Regions from separate parts of the Homo sapiens genome. Here region 2 is linked to region 1. Evidence: promoter capture Hi-C in human tissues and cell types (Jung and others, 2019). All regions are on one chromosome and are shown on one strand. The core of a region is centred on a gene start or on the middle of the fragment in contact, and the rest is flanking DNA. Distances in the headings are between cores, read along the strand shown.

Region 1 (2,767 bases), core at 75-2,574:
TAGAATGCAATCACCCTGCAAGCAAATTTTCCACTATATCTCCAGTACCTGCTAAAGCAGGTGCTCATACATATTTGCTGAAAGAATTAATTACCAGATGGCAATTGTATATATTTTGTAATATCCTTACTTGGCAGAATTAAAAGCTGCCAATTTTGTGTAAGTCCCCATTTTAAAAAACAGGGCTATTTGTAAGCCCAGGACTATTGTGATAGATGAACTGGCTGCAAGCCCCTTACAACATAGGTGTTATAAGGAAAACAGGAGAAGGGAGAAAGAGGGACAGTGGATGGGTGGAGGGAGAAGTGGAAGGTGGGTGACTGGGTGGATGTGTGGGTAGGTTAGTGGCCAGATGGATGGATGAATGGGTGAGTGGATGAATGGTGGATGGGTGGATGCGTGGGTGGGTGGCTGGATGGGTGAGTGGGTGGATGAATGGGTGGATGGATGGGTGAGTTGGTAGATGGGTGGGTGAGTGGGTGGGTGGATGGGTGGATGAGTGAATGGGTGGGTGGATGGATGGTGGATGGGTGGGTGAGAGTGGATGGTTAGGTGAGTGGGTGGATGGATGGGCAGGTGAGTGGGTGAGTGGGCGGATGGTAGATGGGTGGGTGGATGGGTGGGTGAGTGGGTGGATGGGTGGATGGATGGATGGAGGGTGGGTGGGTGGGCGGATGGGCAGGTGAGTGGGCGGGTAGATGGGTGGTGGATGGGTGGGTGAGTGGGTGGATAGATGGATGGATGGGTGGATGGTTAGATGGGTAGGTGAGTAGGTGGATAGGTGGATAGACGGGTGTATGGATGGGTGAGTGGTTGAATGGGTGGATGGTTGGACGGGTGGGTGAGTGGGTGGATGGGTGGATGGATGGTGGATGGGTGGGTGAGTGGGTGGATGGGTGGGTGAGTGGGTGGATGGGTGGGTGAATGGATGAGCGGGTAGTGGGTGATTGGGTGAATGAATGAGTGTCTGGCTGAGTGAGTGAGAGGATGGGTACCTCTGGGAAGGTAAATCCAAGTTGCAGTGTAAGTTGAGCCAGGGGAGGTGGCCACAGTTGGCTCCCTTAGGCCGCCCACCTCGTGGGGTCACCAAGGGGTTACTTCGGGGCAGAAAGGTGCGGCTGTGGGTCGCCCCGCCCGGGTTTCCAGCAGCAGCACCCCAGCCCCCACCCAGCACACAGGCACCCCTCCCGCCCGGGCCCCAGACGCGCTCAGGCCGCCCCCTGAGGGCGCCCGTTCTCAGGTGAGCTCCCGGACTAGCGCGCATGCGCACAGGTGAGTGCCCGCCCCGCCCCCGGGCTTGGCCACCTGCCCAAGAAACTTGTTGGTTGTTGCCCTCAGGTCGCTCCCGGGCGGGGACACGGAACCCGGCCATGGAAGATCCGTCGGGGGCTCGCGAGCCCCGGGCCCGGCCGAGAGAGCGGGACCCGGGACGGCGCCCCCACCCAGACCAAGGCCGCACCCACGATCGACCGCGGGACCGACCCGGGGACCCGCGCAGGAAGCGAAGCAGCGACGGGAACCGGCGAAGGGACGGGGACCGGGACCCGGAGAGAGACCAGGAGAGGGACGGGAACCGCGACCGGAACCGGGACCGGGAGAGGGAGAGAGAGAGGGAAAGAGACCCGGACCGAGGCCCCCGCCGGGACACACACAGGGACGCGGGCCCTCGCGCAGGTGAACACGGAGTTTGGGAAAAACCGCGCCAAAGCCGGACGCGGGACGGAGCCCGGGGACTGACCTGGGACGCAGCCGCGCCTCCTGGGCCCGCGCCCTGGGAAGCCCCGGAGCCGCCGCAGCCGCAGAGGAAGGGAGACCCCGGGCGCCGCAGACCCGAAAGGTGAGAGGGGCCGGGGCGCTGCGACCTCCGCGCCGGGGACACCTGTGGCCCAGGCCGGCCCGCGAGGCCCTGGCGTCCCCGGGTTCTCGTCCTAGGAGCCCGTTTAAATGAACAAATGCCGTTTCTCCCTTCTGCGCTCTCAGAGGCGACCTGGCAGGGAAGGAAAACTTTAGGGTTCCCCCTTCTCGTGGCCTGAACCCAACTAACAAAGCAAAAACCACCCCTGTGAGCAGTGGCTGGGCTGGAGGACCTGGAGAAGAGAAAGAGAGGCCCCGGGACCCGAGAGGGAGGGGTGGGAGGAGACCAGGCGGGTGGGGTTCACCCCAGGCTCCTCCCCGGCCCGGCCCGCATGGTCACAGGACTGCGCCTTGGGGTTCAGACCCTTGTCCCGTGTTCCAGAGCCAGCCCTTCCCGACTCCAAAGTCCCCTTCCTTGTGGCCGGGCCGCCCACTTGGGAAGCCCGATGAAGAGTTAATAGTTTAATGTGTTACCCCTCCCAGGAATAGGTGCCTTCAGAAACAGGTGGGCCGGCGCGGTGGCTCATGCCTGTAATCCCAACACTTTGGGAGGCCGAGGCGGGCGGATCACCTGAGGCCAGGAGTTCGAGACCAGCCTGGCCAACATGGTGAAACCCCGTCTTTACTAAAAATACAAAAACTTAGCCAGGCGTGATGGCAGATGCCTGTAATCCCAGCTACTTGGGAGGCTGAGGAGGGAGAATCGCTTGAACCCGGGAGGCGGAGGTTGCAGTGAGCCGAGATCGCACCACTGCACTCCAGCCTGGGCGACAAAGCGAGACTCCGTCTCAAAAAAAAAAAAAAAAGTCAGATGGGAGACGCTACATTTTTAACCAAAGAACAAAGTCTACGTAAAATTCTCCCACTGAAGGGTACAGGTTTGTTTTCCCTTTTGCCAGTGAGGTCTCTCTAG
Region 2 (2,767 bases), core at 95-2,594, 120 kb before region 1:
CTGCTGGACTGTTTTGAAGCAAATCCCAGGTTACACACTTTTACTTCACCTGTAAATACTTCTATATATATCTCTCTTAAAAATAAGGATGTTTTGAAAACATAACTTATAAACCAGTACACCTAAGAAATGCAAGTCATTCAATATCCATCTAATGTGCAAATTTCCCCTAATTGTCTCACACATATTTTTGTTTTGGTTTGGTTTAGATTTTAGTGTTGGTTTTTCTTCTCTTTCTTTTCTTTTCTTTTTTAGTGTTGGTTTTTTAACTCAAGATCCTAACGAGGCCCACAAATTGCATTTGGCTGATATTTCTCTTAAGTCTCTTTGCATCTCCTTGGCTTACTGTTTAACATGCTCTTCTGGCCTCTGAATTTCCTGAAAATTGATCTTTAGATCTCAAGACTTGGTCAGATTCAGATTTTATACTTTGGCAAGAATCCTTCACAGATGGTATGTGCAGTGGGTTCAGTGTTATTATCTTTCCATCTAATGGTTTTAGCAGCTATCAATGACACAACCTGGATCCATCATTATGAAATGGAGTTCCTCTTCAATTTTAATGAAAGCCAGTAAATGGAAACCTGCAGAAGAATTTGTTCCCTAGTTGTCAGAGTCACCACTCTCTTAATTTTTAGAAACTAGTATACTCAACTTCAGAAATTATCATTATTATATTAATTAGTTATTGATTTTGAGACTTACTTTATTAATTAGACTTATTAATTATTAATTTTGAGGCAGGTAATTATAATTAATTATACTGGTTATTCTTTCTTTTTTTTTTTTTTGAGACAAGGTCTTGTGTATCACCCAGGCTGGAGTGCAGTGCAGTGGCACAATCATAGCTCACTGTAGCCTTGAACTCCTGAGCTCAAGTGATTCTCCTGCCTCAGCCTCCCAAGTAGCTAGGACTACAGGCATGCACCACCATGCCCCATTAAATTGTCTTATTTTTATTTTTGTAGAGATGGGGTCTTACTATGTTGTCCATGCTCACCTTGAACTCCTAGCCTCAAGCAGTCTTCCCACCTCAGTCTCCCAAAGCACTAGGATCACAGTGCATCAGCCTGCTATTATTCTTTCACTTAAGATACACCTTGTTTAACTTGTTGATAATACTCAAAAACTACTGGAAAATCAAAATATTTATATCAAACCACCATCACCAATTTAATATTTTTTCAATAAAAATATTTTTATCTCATCCTATGTTTTAAATACATTCTTGTTAAAAAGCCTTGGAAATCTATTTCATTTCACCTATGAAAAATACCCACCATATAACCTAATTGGACACTCTGATCCTCATTTTCAAACCAATAAAATAATCAGAGTTAATTTCTCTCCGAATTTTTTTTTTTTTTTTGAGATGGAGTTTCAGTCTCGTTGCCCAGACTGGAGCTCTAGTTTGATTGCACTGTGGTCTGAGAGACAGTTTGTTATAATTTCTGTTCTTTTACATTTGCTGAGAACTGCTTTACTTCCAACTATGTGGTCAATTTTGGAATAAGTGCGATGTGGTGCTGAGAAGAATGTATATTCTGTTGATTTGGGGTGGAGAGTTCTGTAGATGTCTATTAGGTCTGCTTGGTGCAGAGCTGAGTTCAATTCCTGGATATCCTTGTTAACTTTCTGGCTCATGGATCTGTCTTATATTGACAGTGGGGTGTTAAAGCCTCCCATTATTATTGTGTGGGGGTCTAAGTCTCTTGTAGGTCTCTAAGGACTTGCTTTATGAATCTGGGTGCTCCTGTATTGGGTGGATATATATTTAGGATAGTTAGCTCTTCTTGTTGAATTGATCCCTTTACCATTATGTAATGGCCTTCTTTGTCTCCTTTGATCTTTGTTGGTTTAAAGTCTGTTTTATCAGAGACTAGGATTGCAACCCCTGCCTTTTTTTGTTTTCCATTTGCTTGGTAGATCTTCCTCCATCCCTTTATTTTGAGCCTATGTGTGTCTCTGCACGTGAGATGGGTCTCCTGAATACAGCATAGTGATAGGTCTTGACTCTATCCAATTTGCCAGTCTGTGTCTTTTAATTGGAGCATTTAGCCCATTTACATCTAAGGTTAATATTGTTATGTGTGAATTTGATCCTGTCATTATGATGTTAGCTGGTTATCTTGCTCATTAGTTGATGCAGTTTCTTCCTAGCATCGATGGTCTTTACAATTTAGCATGTTTTTGCAGTGGCTGGTACCGGGTGTTCCTTTCCATGTTTAGTGCTTCCTTCAGGAGCTCTTGTAAGGTAGGCCTGGTGGTGACAAAATCTCTCAGCATTTGCTTGTCTGTAAAGGATTTTATTTCTCCTTTTCTCCTTCACTTATGAAGCTTAGTTTGGCTGGATATGAAATTCTGGGTTGAAAATGCTTTTCTTTAAGAATGTTGAATACTGTCCCCCACTCTCTTCTGGCTTGTAGAGTTTCTGCTGAGAGATCCACTGTTAGTCTGATGGGCTTCCCTTTGTGGGTAACCCGACCTTTCTATCTGGCTGCCCTTAATATTTTTTCCTTCATTTCAACTTTGCTGAATCTGAAAATTACGTGTCTTGGAGTTGCTCTTCTCGAGGAGTATCTTTGTGGTGTACTCTGTATTTCCTGAATTTGAATGTTGGCCTATCTTGCTAGGTTGGGGAAGTTCTCCTGGATAATATCCTGAAGAGTGTTTTCCAACTTGGTTCCATTCTCCCCATCACTTTCAGGTACACCAATCAAAAGTAGATTTGGTGTTTTCACATAGTCCCATATTTCTTGGAGGATTT

What was found. Contacts are between HindIII fragments. The study calls those that stand out against the background at their distance.
Region 2: a contact is called between a fragment that was not itself captured here and the fragment with the promoter of MARVELD3 in region 1, in 2 of the 25 tissues and cell types used here (pancreas and spleen).

What each region holds. Positions count from the first base shown.
Region 1 is chr16:71,624,860-71,627,626 of GRCh38, forward strand. It overlaps MARVELD3 (MARVEL domain containing 3), which reads left to right and starts at 1,325. Exons shown (of 3, transcript NM_052858.6): 1 at 1,325-1,837. The coding sequence starts at 1,371. RefSeq lists a silencer at 2,146-2,195. The HindIII fragment of the contact is 11,141 bases long and covers 1-2,767 here.
Region 2 is chr16:71,507,109-71,509,875 of GRCh38, forward strand. No RefSeq gene overlaps it. Among named protein-coding and RNA genes, the nearest start is that of CHST4, 18 kb to the right of the region's middle. The HindIII fragment of the contact is 6,114 bases long and covers 1-2,767 here.